Linked DNA regions of Homo sapiens: region 2 is linked to region 1. Evidence: promoter capture Hi-C in 16 types of primary human blood cells and fetal thymus (Javierre and others, 2016). All regions are on one chromosome and are shown on one strand. Each heading gives the region's core, a stretch centred on a gene start or on the middle of the fragment in contact. The rest is flanking DNA. Distances are from core to core; before and after follow the strand shown.

Region 1 (7,915 bases), core at 937-3,436:
TGCACTCCCCCCTAGACAGGGAGAGGGTAGCTAGGAAGGCAACCAGGAGTGGGAGAGGGATTTGAGGAGGCCTTGGGGAAGGAGAGAGCTTGGTGCTGGGAGGAGGGGGAAGGGGCAGAGGGACCACACGCTGAGGAGAGCTGGGCAAAGAAATTCCAGGGAATGGGGGAAGTTATTTGCTTAGCGCTCTGGGCCCATAAGGGACACGAATCAGATCAGGGGGTCAGGATTGAACTGGGAACCCGGTAGGGAGTTTTGTGTGTGTGTGTGTGTGTGTGTGTGTGTGTGTGTTGTGTGTGTGTGTGTGTGTGTGTGTGTTTAGCAGAAGAATGCATCCTAATGTGGGGCAGAGTTCCTTGTTGGGAAGGAATGCAGAGGTGGTGGAAACCCAGAATTGGCAGTCCTTCCTCCCTCTCCCTTCTCGGGAAATGAAATAACCCGGACATGTGGGGGCCTCTCCTAGGAGCCATGAAGCAATGTGCAATGTTTTGCCCAGAGGAAGAAGAAGGAAATGATGGAATTCAGACATCTGTCCTGCTCACCACCCCATGAAGTTCCATAGGGAGAGTGGCCATATAGTTAATCAACCAAACTGGGACATTCCTAACAGTGAAAGGGACAATATTTGTAAACTGGGACTGACCCTGCAGAGAACAACCACCCGTAAGTGGCACACCCACCTTCTGGCCAGAACTGAGTGATCTGTGATTATTGAATGCAACAAACACCCAACAATGGCCAGAGATTCCCTGAGAATGGGACCGAGGCAGCAGCCTGGACATGGGGGAGACAGGGCAAGGCTGGCAGAGAGACGCTTGTGGCTGGCGGTAAGCTCTCCCCGTCACCCAGCTTTGCAATGGCTGCTTCTAGCGTCTCCTCCTGCATCTCAGCAGAGATATTCCTGGATCACAGCCAGGAGACCTAGGCTCTTGTTGCTGCCTGGCCACATCCCTAAATGAGTCTCTTCCCCTCTCCCTGCCTCAGTTTTCCTCTCTGTTAAGTGGGATCTGTTATCCCTGCAGCACCCCATCTGTTTTCCTGTTAAATGCAAGACATTATTCTAAAGCAAAAAGGAACTGCTTCAGAGCGGCTGCTTGCGGTTCTCAACACCAGGAGACTTGGAACGCGGCAGGGAGGCTGGAGGGGCACCTGAGGACAGGGGCTGAGAGGGGAGGCAGAGGATGCCAGAGGGGACCGAGCCCATTGCCCAGCACAGGGAAGACCCAATGACTGGAGAATGGAAAATCCACTTCCCACCCTGAGCTTGGGCCCCCAGAGAGGAGGGGTCTGGCTTGCCCAGCTCTCCCTCAGTGCCCAGCCTGGGTCTGACTCAGCACAGCTGCTCCAAGGGAAACAGAGGCTTGGTGCTGCAAACATGGCCCGAGATAGATGCGGGCTTCCAACTCAACTCTGCACCCGTCCCTGTGTGACGCCCCAGCAGGGCGCTTGACTTCTTTGAGCCTCAGCTCAGTTTTCTTGCTGTGAAATTAGACAAGCGCATATTGCTCCAAATAAGATCAAGGCAGTGTTCAGTGCCAGCCCTGCACAAACAGCAGCCCGGCTATCACCATGAATGGTGTTTGTTGACTGAATATATGAGGGCTTTGGATAACATTGACAGGACAGGAGAAGGGAGAAGGCCTCTCAGCCACCACCGCCAAGCCCGGGACTCTCCCAGACCCCTCCATGCTCCCGGGCTCCTGCACACCCCACCCACACCCGGCTCATACCGCCCAGGGTGGCAAAGAAGCCCTCCAAATTGCATCCTGTGGGCCCGAAGACGAAGTATCCATGCAGAGAGGTGTAGAGGGTGCTGGTGAAGCCACCTAGGACCATGAAGAGGTCAGCCACGGCTAGGTTGAGCAGGATGTAGTTGAGAGGCGTGCGCAGCTTCTTGTGCTGGACGGTGACGTAGAGCGTGAGGAAGTTGATGGGGAAGCCCAGCACGATCAGCAGAAACATGTAGGCGGCCAGCATGGAGAACTGCCATGGCTCAGCCAGGTAGTACTGTGGGTACTCGAAGGGGCTGCGTACCACACCCGTCGCATTGGAGAAGGGCACGTAGAAGTTAGGGCCTTCTGTGCCATTCATGGCTGTGGCCCTTGTGGCTGACCCGTGGCTGCTCCCACCCAAGAATGCTGCGAAGGCCTGAGCTCAGCCACTCAGGGCTCCAGCTGGATGACTCTGGGTTCTGACCCCCCCAGACCCTTATAAAGTGACCTCCCCCTCCTAAGCTCCTGGCTGAATCAGCATCTGGGAGATTGGGGGTGTTCATAATCATATTAATCCCCGCTGCAGAAACTGAGGGCCTAATTGGCTTCTAAGAGGGGCCAAGGTGACACTAGGAGGAAGCCTGAGGTCAGGGAGGAGAGGTACTCAGGATCCAGGAAAAGGGAGGAGAAGGTCCCCTAACTTCTGCATGACTTGTCTGTCCCAAGGTCCCAGCTCAGTCTGGTGGCCTGGGTTTGAAATAGGGACCATGGGCCTCTGTGCTATGTCCTCTGGACAGCTAGAGACTTTCTGGTTTATTCTCCCAGTCTCTCATCTCGTCACACAGCCCCTTACCTGTTCGTTCCCCCACAAGTTACCTCTGGAGTCATCCAGTCCCCACACTCCTCTGACAGGAGGAGCTCCATGAGGGCAGGGGCTGCAACCTGCAGCTTCCGTTTCTGGTGCCAGACACATAGCCTAGGGCCCAGGAGCCCAATCCTTGTTGCATGGAATTGGAATTCACTCTCTTGTTCGTTCATTAAACATTTATTTGCAGGCCCCTGGGAATACAAAGATGGAAAGAAACAGCCCTGCCCAGAGGAGCTCAGGGGCTGAGGAGGACTCAAATGTGGGAAGAAGCAGATTCCGTCCAGGGTGGCTGTGAGGTTGTGGAGACAGGGCCTGACTGCCTGGGGGTTGCAGTCTGGGAGGCCATGTTTGGGCCTTTGAGAGAAGGAGCAGTTTGCCAGGTGGCTAGGTGGGGAAGATCTGGGCTGGGGGCAGTTGTAATGGGTCTTGAACGCTAGGCCGGGGAACCTGGCTTTATCCAGAGGAAAGTGAGCAGTGGCTTGGGCAGATCACTGGTGTAGAAAGGTGACTCAAATGCCCCCAAAGATGGAGTGGAGGGAGGGAGGATGGAGGGGGCTACCAGAGCAGGGGAGGGGCAGAACCCTTCAGGGGACTCCAGTCTGAAGGGGAGGCTGGCCCTGGAGGCAGCAGACAGGGCACTGTTGGGGGAGGCCTAATCAGCCACGAGGGCCTCAAATGCCATGTACCAGGTGGCCCCACGAGGGCCGATTCCAGAATAGCAGGATGTACCGTGAGAAAGAAAGTAGTCAGAGCCTTGGGGGCAGATGACTGGGGGAAAATGGAGGCCAACACTGGCAGGTCCCCCTCTCCCCGTCGTCCAAGCAACATGATGACACCTCCCAGGAATGAAGTGGGGTGTCTGGGGCGGCCTGTGCAAGTGCTGAGAGTGCCCGACGTGCGGCCGCTCAGTGACCACTGTCCAGCCAACATGTGTATTGAGCACCTACTGTGGCCCAGACAAGGTGCTTGGTCCTTGGGGACACACAGGGTACACGAAAGAGCAAGCTCCTGCTCACAAGAAGCCAGTGTTTTTGTGGGGTGAGGGGGCACAGGGACCACAAACAAATAGAAGAGCGAATAACAGTAGGGACAGTTCAGTCGCAGCCACTCCCAACACAGGAGGCTTCTCTGAGAAGCTGGAGCTTGAGCTGAGAACGGAACAACAGGAGGAAGCTTCAGGGGAAGGACATCCAGGCGGAAGGACCCCTGAGAGTGCAAAGCCCTGATGCCTGGGAAATATCCCTTAATCTCTCTCTCACTGTCTCTCTTCCCACCCAGGATTCCCAGATCTGTCTGCTCAGAAGAGTGCCCCCTTCCCTGCAGCCCACCTGGGCTCCAGCCCCCTACCTGGCCTGGGTGGTGTTGGGTCTAACAGCGTTTGGCACACGTGGCAGGGCTAAGGCAGGGCGGGTGGGATGGGGCCTCTCGTAGTTTAAGGCGCTTGGCCTGGTGATTATGCCCAACGCTAATGAGGTTAAGGTGAGGGTTTGATTCTGACGTGGACCCTCATGGCCAGAAGGAGGGTGTCCTGGATGCCTTGGGTCAAGACTGACCCACAACTGGCCCCTCCCTGGCCGGGCTGAGCCCCCATCCCACACAGCTTAGCAGTACCTCAGCATCTTGCTTTTTGCATAGTGCTTCTGACAGCATGGAAGCTTTTTATTTGTGTTTTGTGCCCGTCTCCCTGCCTGTAACATGAGTCCACAAGGGTAAGCCTGGGTCTGTCTTGCTCACAACAGGGTTCCCAGAGACCAGCATGGTGCTTGGCCTGTAGTGGAAAGAGGTGGGATGATGTCTGTTTTGTTCACTGATGTGTCTCCAGGGCCTGGCACCTAGAAGGTGCTCCTGAATATTTGTTGAATGAACGAGTGAGTGGGGGAATGGACCTAGATGATCTCAGTACTTCCCCTCTCTGTCTCAGGTTCCTCCTTTGTGAGTTTCACAATTGCAACCTCATGGAGCCCTGGTGATGGGGAACTAACAGCCATCACTGAGGTGACAGTGCTCTTTATTCTGTAAAGCTTGACGAAGAAAAAAAAAGTTTTGAGACAAGGTCTCTGTCGCCCAGGCTGGAGTGCAGTGCCACAATCATAGCTCACTGTAGCCTCTGCCTCCTGGGCTCAAGCGATCCTCTCACCTCAGCCTCCTGAGTAGCTGGGACCACAAGTGCACACCACTAGTTTTTGTATTTTTTGTAGGGGTGGAGTCTCGCTATGTTGCCCAGGCTGGTCCTGAACTCCTGGCTCAAGCGATCCACCCTCCTCGGCCTCCCAAAGTGCCAGGATTATAGGAGTGAACCACCGTGTCCGGCCCAAGAAATTTTTTTTTAAACAAAAAATGCTCTTTGTTCAGGAAAACAGACTCATAGTGAGCTGGAAGGGTCATTCGAAGTCACCTACTCTGACCATCTCTGCTATATCCATTTTGCAGATGAAAAGACTGAGGCCTAGCTCTGCAGAGTTGCTCAGGTCCCGTTACAAATCAGTGACAGCCTGGGCTATAACCCACACAGTCAACTGGGCTTCCTGGGGTATCAGCTTCCCAAACCTGGCTATGCCTCCCTCCCCTCATCAAAGATAGCTCTCAGGAAAGACCAGCCAGCCATTCACACCATGGTATAAATGACTAAAGAAAGGTTTAGCTGGGGTAATGGAAAGGCCCTAGACTGAGTCACACAGGCCTGGCGTGGGGCAGTGGAAGCCTCGAGGAGAGGAGGCTGGATTCTAGCTGGTCTTTGAGTCACCATGGTAGTCCTGCTTCCTTCCCCTCTCTGGGCCTCAGTTTGCTCAGACGAGGAAGCCTCAGTGTGGGGTAGGGGCACACCCATCTATACAGTAAACCTCACCTGCTTTCTCCATGAGAGCCTGGTTCGTGAATCTTTAGACCCTATGGCCTTGGTTTCACTGTTCTCCCTCATTGGGCAAGGCTCTTTTCCACCCACCCTTACATCTGGACTGAGGCTACACAGCCTGGGTGCAGCCAGCTACCCCGCCCTCCCGAGAGTGTGCTTCGGTTCTCCACTCTGTAAAATGGGAATGATAATAGTGCCTACCTAATAGGATTATTGGGAGTGCTTGTAAGTGATCAATATATTTGTTGCTGACAGTATTAATCTCTTCCTGAGTCTCCTTCAGGTCTCCGCTCACACTCATGTCCTTGGAGAGACCACCCCTGACCATCCTACACACCAGGCACCCCCACCAGGTTTAGCTGTTTTGAGACAGGGTCTCACTCTGTCACCCAAGCTGGAGTGCAGTGGTGTGATCTTGGCTCACTGCAACCTCCTCTTCCTGGGTTCAAGCGATTCTCCTGCCTTAGCCTCCCAAGTAACCAGGACTACAGGCATGTACTGCCATGCCTGGCTAATTTTTATATTTTTAGTACAGACAGGATTTTGCCATGTTAGCCAGGCTGGTCTCTAACTCCTGATCTCAAGTGATCCATCCGCCTCGGCCTCCCAAAGTGCTGGGGTTACAGGCGTGAGCCACCACACCTGGCCTATTGTTTTTTGAGACAGGGTATCACTCTGTGACTCAGGTTGGAGTGCAGCGGCATGATCATGGCTCACTGCAGCCTCAACCTCCTGGGCTCAAGCGGTCCACCACCTCAACCCCTGAGTAGCTGGGACCATTGGTGTGTGCCACCATGCCTGGCTAATTTATTTTCATTTTTGTAGAGTTGGGCTCTCCCTATATTGTCCAAGCTGTTCTCTAACTCCCAGGCTCAAGTGATCCTCCTGCCTTGGGAGCCACTTGGGAGGCTGTAATCTCAGCCTCCCAAAGTGCTGAGATTATAGGTGTGAGCAACCACACCCAGCCATGTTCAGTTTTTACACAGTCATTACCATCAGCGACTATCTCATTTGTCTTCTTAAAACAATTTTTAAATGTTTTTTAGAGATGAGTCTTGCTCTGTTGCCCAGGCTGGAGTGCAGTGGCGCAATCATAGCTTACTGCAGCCTTGAATTCCTGTCCTAGGCTCAAGTGATCCTCCTACCTCAGCATCCCGAGTAACTGGGTCTACAGGCATGCCACCACACCTGGCCTCATTTGTCTACTTATTGACTGACTTCCCATCTATTTCTAGAATGCAGGACCAGCCTGGCCTGTTCATCGCTGCCTCTGAGCTCACAACCCATAGGAGGTGTTCAATAAACATTTGTTGAATGAATGAACAACTCCTCCTGCCCCCTATGAAGAGGGTCTAACTCCCCACTGACCACTGAGGAATCTGGGGTATGCAGGGTCAAAGTTCCTCTGCAGAGCTGGGATTTGAACACAGGCCTGGCCAGCACCCACACCTTGTGTCGGGCAGTCCAGAGAAACCCATGGTGTGGGTGTTGGCCAAGCTGGCATGTGGGGGGCTTTCTAAGCCAAGATGGCTGGATGCAGCCATCTTGGGGCACCCGAGTCCCAGCCCTCGGGAGCCCGGCTAGGGGCTTTGCCTTTGCCTCGGTGGATTAGGGGCTTAGCTTGCAGGGCACAAATCGCTCTTCAGCCTCTGCAAGAGAGGAGCTGCTGTGAGAGGAGCTGCTAGGTCAGCATCCTTCTCCTCCTTCTCCTCCTCCTCCTCCTCTTCCTTGGCTTTCTTTCTCCTGGTCCCCCACATGGCTCAGCCCCACCAGGCTGCGTCACCAAGGCTACATGAGGCCTTCAGCGGTACTGAGAGCATCAAGGGGGAATAAGGGAGGGAGAAAGACCAGCTCTCATTCCCTCCTTCCTCTTTCTCTTTTCTACCCTAGCATTTGCCAAACTCCTTATATGCGCCAGGCCCTGGGGACGCTGAGGTGGATCCCACATGGTTCCTGCTTTCAAGGGGCTCCCAGTCTCAGGGGGTACTGATCGGAAACTAAACATGAGAGATGAGCATTTTCTCCCAGTCCCAGTGCTGTGGGAGCCCAGAGGAGCAAAAGGTGGACCAGGAGGGTCAAAAGAGTCTCCCAAGCAGGGCAGGTAGGGAGGGCCAGCTGGGCCTGGAGGTGCTGGGCCCCCCAGGGTGGCGTGCTGGGGATAGAGGGCAGGCCTAGGGGTCTGGGTGTTGGCTGAATTGCATGGGCAGCTACTGCGGGTGGCAAGCAGGGAGGGCCATGACGAGGTCTCCATACCAGGCCAGTGTTCTGGATCTGCAGGGGGAGAATCAGGGAGGCTCGGGGTAAGCACCCTGCCCAGTGGTGGCCTCTGCTGTGGGCACACAGACTCCAAGCCAGGGAAGAGACACAGAGCGACCTTGGAGGAGGGGCCTCTGCCCACCTGTGTGACAGCCACCAGGGGCTCCTAGCTTCACAGCCTTGCTGGGGACAGATGGGAAACCAAGGCCCGGGGACCTCCAGCTGCCT
Region 2 (7,915 bases), core at 771-3,270, 38 kb after region 1:
CTCAGTTCAGACTGTGGGCCTTGCTCCCCAGGTCCATTTCTGGGGAATGGAGCTCAGCTCATGTGCATTTGGGAAACTCCTCCAACACTATCAGATTACTGGAGTCTGAGAGGATGGTGACCAGCTATCCGCCACCAGGAGGATGCAAACCAGTTCCTGAGAACCTACTGAATCCTCACAGCAGCCTGTGAGGTAGGTCCAATCCCTTTTCACAGACTAGAAACCCAACCCTGGAGAGATCCGGAACCCATGTGCCTCACCCAGCTATCACACAACAGCTCACACTACCTGCTGTTGTCTCCCCCAGTGTGGCCACTCTGCCCCCGGAGCAAGGCTGTGGCCCAGATGCCCAGACGCCAGTGAGCTCTGTTCCCATGTCCTCAAGGCTCTTGCCTGTTAGAAGGGCTGCCCCTAAAACAGGAACCCCAAGTATGCCTTCTTGAGAAGGAAAAATGCTTCATCTTTTACCTCAATGCTGCTGATGAGCTCTAAATATCGGAGGTCTTGTACTCTGATGAAGGCCTGTGGCGAAGAAATAAAGAATAAAATAAGCTGTCTTCTTGGCTTCAAAAGTGGGTGATTGGCTAGGGGTGGGAAGTCAAGCTCTATCTAGACAGTGAGCCACAGAGGAGAGGAAGGGAGCAAGCACAGATTAATCATCGTGCGTGCAGGAGGTTATACCACCCAGCGAGGCATGGCTTTATCCATGGGATTGGACCATGTAAAGAACAGCAAAGACATCCCAGTTGCATCAGTCATTTTGAGATCAGGTAAAACAAAACCGTGATGCCACAGTCTGTGGCGGTGCCTCCTTGGGAGACTCTAGACCCAAAGAAGAACAAGCCGGTCTGACCCTCTGGGGGGTCACGCAGCATCACAGCAGGAGAGGATGAGATGCATGGACTGATGAGAGACTGCCTATACATCTTGGCAACATGGGTAGAATGCAGGGGACAGCTATGCCTACCCAGTGGTGCCACAGACACAGGGGACCCAGAGCCCCTGGTACCACAGAGGGAGCAGAGGAGGGGAAAGCTGAGAGGGTATAAAGACAGATTCTGGAAGAAGGTGGAGGGGTAGGGAATGAATCCCACCAAGTCTGTGGAAGGCAAACTCTTTATGTAAACCCTAAAATTGCAGCCCTTGCCTTGAACTCACAGTAAAGCCAGAGACTTTAACTCATGGACCTCTAGAAGTTTCTGAGGAACAAGCAGACTGGTGTTAGCTAAGCTAGTTTTGCTGCTTTCAGATTCTGCCCAGGGTTTGGAGGAGCACAAGCCACCAGGTCAGGCTGCTTTCAGGTGGCTTTGCTGTCACCATTTATTGCCCCATTCAAAATGGGCTGACCTGTGCCTAGAGGAGGCAGCAGCTCCAGAGCCCTTTGAACTGAACACGCAGAGCAATCCTGACCACTTGCAGCCTCTGCTCAGCAGCATGGCATCCTCCCTCCTGAAAAGACCTCGGGAGATGAGCAAGTCCCCGGCCTGCCTTGCAGGTGACCACAATGCAACTTTATCTTTTCATCCCACAGGACCAGGCTTCCTGTCAAGAGACTGAGGACCCAGGGAGAAACATGTCTCGGCCCCTGTCCCCCTCCACAATTCAGAGGTCCACATTCTAACAGGGAAAGCTGGTCAATTAAACAGATCATGACACCTCCCAGAGCTAAGAGCTCTCCAACTACGAACCACATGCCTGGAGAACACGGATGAATGGTCTGAGCATGAGCAGGGGTGGGAGGCAGCGTTAAGGGAGGCATCAGAGTCAGAACCTGGCAAACAAGTGTTTGTGAAGAGGAATTCGTAGAAAAGGGCAATGCGGGCATCACATGGGCCAAGGAACACAGGGCTAAGACTACCTGTGTCCCAAGCTGTAGGTCTTACACATCACCCTCTAGATCTGGGTTTCCTTAAAGCGCCTTGAGAGGGCAACCCTGCAAAGCCCAGCACAGTGGCCAAGAGGGAAAGGAGCATTCGAGGTCTGAGTCCTCGCTCTGAGCCTACTTCTCTGCTTCTGGGCTCCAACCATCTTCTTTGTGGAAAGGGGCCTGCTACTGACACCCTCTCAAGGGTCTTTCTAGCTGTAGCTCAGCTGTGCTAGTGTCTAGGATTTGCCCATTAATAAATCTGTTTCCGAGTTCCTTCAACCTGACACATTTTGCAGCGTCAGGGTGCCTGGTCAGAGTCACAAGGCCCCTGAATGAGCTCAGCAGAGGGAAGCCTGGGAATAGGGAGGAACCTGCAGCTCTGCTCAGGGTCTGGCGGGAGCTCAGCAGCTCTTCTCTGCCATCTAGTGGGGATGGCTGTCCATCTCTAGGAACCACTATATCCAAGCTGGTGAGCCTGAGTGCCTGGCACAGAGTAAAGAGGTGGGGTACTCGGGATTTAGATGAAATAGTAACATCCAGCCTATCTTCAATATCATGTGGCTTTTTCAAAACAGCATGTTGTACACAATAGATATATACCACATACACTTACTTTTCAACTATAGTAAATCTGGCTGGGTGTGGTGGTTTATACCTGTAATCCCAGCACTTTGGGAGGCTGAGGCAAGAAGACTGCTTGAGCCCAGGAGTTCAAGACCTGCCTGGGCAACACAGTGAGTCCCCGTCTCAATATTTAAACAAATATATAAAAATATATATATTTATAAAAATATCAGTAAACACTCATATTAAACCTTGTGGCTTTTTACAATCCTTTCTATTCTAGGGATTTGTCGTCTCCCTCCCTGCTGGCATTTCTGGGTGGGGCAGGAGAGGGAAGCTCCCTCCATAGAGATGCCTCCTCCCTCCTCTGAATTCTTTTTTTTTTTTTTTTTTAAGTCAGAGTCTTGCTCTATGGCCCAGGCTGGAGTGCAGTGGCACCATCTCGGCTCACTGCACGCTCCGCCTCCCAGGTTCACGCCATTCTCCTGCCTCAGCCTCCGGAGTAGCTGGGACTACAGGCGCCTGCCACCATGCCCGGCTAATTTTTTGTATTTTTAGTAGAGACGGGGTTTCACCGTGTTAGCCAGGATGGTCTCGATCTCCTGACCTTGTGATCCGCACACCTCGGCCTCCCAAAGTGCTAGGATTTACAGGCGTGAGCCACCGCGCCTGGCCCCTCCTCTGAATTCTTACAGCCTCCTCCATCTCCACTTTCCTACACTGAGGACATCTAAAAATATAATCTAGATCATTGTTACACAACGATCACTTCCCTTGTTTAGTAATGGCTAGCATCTGCACAACCATCCCTGATTTAAATTCCCCTTTACAACATCTCAGTTAAGCCTCATGACTGCAGCGGGCATTCTCACCACCCCCATTTCAGAACTGGGAGGACTGGGGCTCCAAGGAAAGTGGCTGGCCTGAGGTCCCAGAGCCCCTTATGTGACACAGCTCGTTCTCAGCCAGGCTTCTTAGTCCTGGTCTGGTCCAGTCTCCTCTCTTCATGCCTACAAGTCTTGATCTAACCCAAGGCGGGCATCACGTCCCTCTTTGCCACTCCTTCAATGTCAGCCCGGGAATATGGACAAAATGAGCAGCTCATTAATTGACTGTGGGGAGATAAAGAGGGAAGGGGTAGGGGAGTGGAGGTTGGAAGCCATTCCTTCCTCCATCTGAGGTTCTAGATGGAAACACAGCTCAGGAACATACCTGGGCTTTTCCTTATGTGCAGAGAGGGGTCAGATGTTTTCAGCCATCTCTCTAGCTTTCATAGACTAGGCCAGGAAAGGACACAACGAATCAAGTCCATGAATCCCGCCATGAAGGTACGTGGGAAGTGCCCACATTGCTGTCAGAATCAGAGACCTTGACCATCTCTCCCACCTTAGTTGGCAGATGCTAAGAAAAGCAGCATTGTGTGCAGCATCATGGCCAGTGACTACACCGATAATAAAAGCCGCCATTTACGGAGTGCCTGTGATGTGCCAGGCTACTAGTCAGGTGCTTCCCACAGAGAACAGCTAATAAGAGTGACAGCCAGAATCTGACATGCTGCTCCTGGGTCAGGCTTTACAGGCATCCTCCCATTTGATCCTCACAGCTTTGTGAGGATGGGGCCTGTCATCATCCTACGTCTATAGAGAAGCAATCTTAGAAAGGGTGTCACCTACCCAGGCCCACAGTGAGGAAGTGGCTAAGATACAAGCCCAGGTCAGCCTAACTCCAGAGACTGCTGCAGTCTATGGCCTCTCCGTGCCACCTGGGTCCCCATCTGCCTTCTTAAGGGACCCCACAAGGACCAAACTCCAGCTCCTGCTGGCTAGATGCTTACCTTCTTTGCTGTTTCAAAATCTAAACCTTCTAGCGCTTCCATGGCCAGTTCACGCCAATCAGTGTCTGTGACACCCAAGCAAGCAATCTGGTAGGCTTCCTTGAACAGTTTCCTATCCAGGTACTGGTACATGGGAGCGGACTGCAGGATTTCATCAAGGGAAAAAAAGAAGACTGTTTTCAGAGCCATGGAAAGAACCAGATGCATACAGAGCCTGCCTCCAGATGCGTGGGATGATTACCCATGCCTGGGGAGCAGCCCTGCAGCCGCCAATCAGCACCCTGCCCAGCCTGCCCAGCCCACCCTGTGTGCTCCATCCTGCACCTCTCTCATGACTGGGCTACTGTGCTCCACAGCACAAACTCTCTGCCCATCCTCCCCTCCTTCCCACCTACAGGCCTGCCTCGCCATAGGATGTCACCCTCACCTGGAATGCCTTTGCCCCTCCCCACTCTGCCTCTGGAAAATACCTATTTGGCTTTCAAGGCCCTGTTGAAATGTCACCTCTTCTGCAGAGTCCTCCCAAGCCCCTCAAGCCCCCACCCCAGGGGAAAGAGTCTCAGCTTCCTCTGCCCTTTGTCCAGATCGCAGGTTGTGCCGCAGTTACAGGCCTGTTCCCACAGCAAAGCCGTGCACAGCCGTGGGCAGTGGTGGGTTGTATCGGCCTCCCTCAGCAGAACCCCAGTCTACGTTTGCTGACACAATGAATGAGTTCGTGGGAGGAAGCGGTCTGGAATGGCCTCTTCTTCCAGGGACTGAGTCCAAGAAAGGTAAGTGATTTGCTCCAAGTTACCCTGGAAGCCTCTGGAAACAGCTCTCCTGATCCCTGCCCTGGGGACAGATGCCCTCCTACAAGATGGGGTTGCCTTGCTGTGAGTGCCCATGAATAGTTCCTAACGACTTCTCTTTCTTAGGTTTATAAAAGGCTTTTGGCTGTCCCCACAGTCCTGTGCAGTAGGTATTATTTCTCCCTGGCTACAGCCCAGGAGACCGAGACTCAGAGAGGACAAATGACCTGTCCCAGCAAATAGCTGGCAATAGCCAGAGGTGACTGGACTCCAGGTTCTGTGCCCCTTCCTGCCACATGTATGCACGCGTGTATATGTGCATATGTGCGTGCAGGCCTGAGAATGAGTCTTGAGTTGGGCCATGACATCTTTAACAAGGAAAGGCCTTGCCCTTGTTTTAGGCCAGCCAGTGTGCTTCAGTGGCCTGCATCTCTCCTGGCTTCCTGGGCAGGGAAGAGAAATCAGCCAGGACCTCTGTGCTAATGGTTCCCAAATGTGGAGCTTGAAGTATTGTTTTCTCCATTTGGGGCTTTTGTCTGTCTTTGAAATTTCCAGTCCCATTTTTTAGCTTTAGAATTGAAGGAATTTTTTTTATTTTGAGTCTGTCTACTCTCAGAGCAAAACATGGCTGCTTCCAAGTGCTTATCTTTTCCACCATGCCATCTCTCCTCATTGGCACATTAAATGCTCCCTTTAGCGGGGCAGCAGGCATAGGCTACGGAGCAGGTGACCTAGAACCCAGGCCAGGCTCAGCCACATCCTAGGCTGGTGACTTTTTGGGTAAATCCATTAACTTCTGTTTAGATGTCCTGCCCAGCTCAGGCTACCATGGGCAAAGGAGAGATGTGCTCCAAAAATAATGAAGCACTGGGCAAAATGCAGGCATGATCATTACCTTCACTGTATTTTCTCAGCACCAGCTCCTCACCATCTCCCAGGCTCTCCAGTCTTGTTCCTACCCCCACCTTTCCCTTTGTTTGAAAAGCTTCCCTGCTCCACTCTTCCTTTCCAGACCTCTCAGGGCTCAGATCAAGTTTCACCATCTCCTGGAAGCTTTCTCAAACTCCTGAAAGCTTTTCTTAAAGCACACAATGAGCTTTCCTTTCTAAAGTCCGTCAGTAAGTACAGCCTGTTGCAATTTAGTTGTGTTTTGTGGTTTTTGCTATTTTATGAGTCAGTAATAAGGAGAAATAATAATAGAAATTTGGCTTGACGAAACCTGAAAGATGGGTATAATTAACCCCATTTCACAGAAAAGAAATGAGGCCCCAAAGAGTGAAATGAGTTGCTCTAGTTACAGCTGCTTGAGATGGCAGAGTCAGGACTGAAAGCTGGTGCTCCTTCCCCGAACCACACCAACTGCTTGCCATGCTGACTGCCCCGTGAGTGGGACAGGCACTCAGGCAGGCATATCACAGCTGAGCATATGATGGATGGCTAACACTTGGACTTACTTGGGAGGCACAATTTGAGTGGAGTTTTAAAAATAGACCCCACTGAACAAATACTCTCTGAGCTATACTTTATCTTGCTGTTGGATTTCAAACATGAAGTCACCACCGCCTTGAGAAGCCCTCCTAGGGCTCGTTGTCCTACTTGGCAGCCCTGACAAACCAGTTCTTGCACAAGACAATGTAAATTTCGAAAGGCAACCAAAAATTCCAAGACTGGGTCTGATGCTTTCTCCCTCCTCTCTGGGCCAAAACCACAGGATGGCCGGAGGCAGAGGCGACAGATGAACAGCCTTTGTCTTGAGAATGTGTTTCCTAACCCTTGGCAGTCCTGACCCGCTGCGTCAGCAGGATGGCCTTGGTGCAGTCAGCAAGACTTTGCTGCTGAATCTTAAAGTCCTGGCAGAGGAAGCCCCAGGCTGCCCCTCTGGCTCCTCTTGGCCGGCCACAGTCAGAGAGCAGCAAACTGCATTTATTTTTGAGGTCAGGATGGCAATCTTGGGAGAAAACCTTTTAATAAAATAAGCAGAGCTAGTTTGGGGCAATTGAGGGAGATGAGTTCCTGGTGGATGTGGTGCGTGGGTTTGTAATGGGGCAGACAAGGATGACGAGGACACAGTCCAGGAGAAGCTGTTCGTGCCCCTCGTCCTGCTGCCACTTCCACCCACCTCATTCCCTTCTTCCTCTTGCTTTCTGGTCTTTTTCCTCAGATCTGAATTCCACTAACATTTCTTGAATAGCTGATCTGTGTCAGGCATGGATGATGGGCATTTCCCCAGTAAGTCTTGCAGTCATGAGTTTCGAGGGTATCATCAACTTAGAAGAAGTGGGCTCTAGCCTGAAGCTGAGTTGTATGGGGAAAACAGACTGACAGAGCCTAGCGGAAGGGAAACCTGGAAATTTCCCTAAAAGTCTTTCAAAGGTACACGTGCTTTGACCCAGCAATTTCATTTCTAGGAATTTATGCCAAGGCGCCAAGTTGGGACAGGTGCAAGGACCTAGCTAGAAAGATGCCTGCTATTTACAATAATACAAAAAAGCTATAAGCAGCAAACATGTCCAGTAGGACTGGTAAAGAAAGCTGTGGAACATCCACAAGACACAATAAAATGCAGCTGTAAATACAAGGCAGGTGGGGACCAGGCAGGAGGGAGGGGTGCTGGCTGTAAAAAGCACAACACCAGGGACCTTGTGGTGGTGGCAGTGTTCAGTGCCATGACTGTGGTGGGAGATTACACATGCCAACATGGGTGGGAAGATCACTCTAGAGCTATGCACACTGTTACCGTTGGGGGAAACTAGGCAAAGGGTTTAAGGGATCTCTGTATTATTTCCTACAATTTATGTGAGTCTACAATTACCCTAAATTTTGCCATGCAGAATAAGAACATTTACCATTTACTGACACAGA

Evidence for each region. The method cuts DNA at HindIII sites, captures the fragments that hold promoters and counts their contacts. A CHiCAGO score of 5 or more calls a contact.
Region 2: a fragment that was not itself captured here is called in contact with the fragment with the promoter of RHO in region 1 in 2 of 17 cell types (M2 macrophages and M1 macrophages); the score reaches 8.1 in M2 macrophages.

The regions. Positions count from the first base shown.
Region 1 is chr3:129,522,910-129,530,824 of GRCh38, reverse strand. RHO (rhodopsin) reads right to left here and starts at 2,186. Exons shown (of 5, transcript NM_000539.3): 1 at 1,731-2,186. The coding sequence starts at 2,091. RefSeq lists enhancers at 784-1,509, 1,510-2,235 and a silencer at 4,433-4,633. The HindIII fragment of the contact is 8,320 bases long and covers 1-3,755 here.
Region 2 is chr3:129,484,748-129,492,662 of GRCh38, reverse strand. IFT122 (intraflagellar transport 122) reads right to left here. Exons shown (of 30, transcript NM_052989.3): 16 at 4,266-4,406; 17 at 469-522. Among named protein-coding and RNA genes, the nearest start is that of RHO, 40 kb to the left of the region's middle. RefSeq lists silencers at 2,301-2,370, 2,777-2,985 and an enhancer at 2,083-2,377. The HindIII fragment of the contact is 8,041 bases long and covers 1-6,040 here.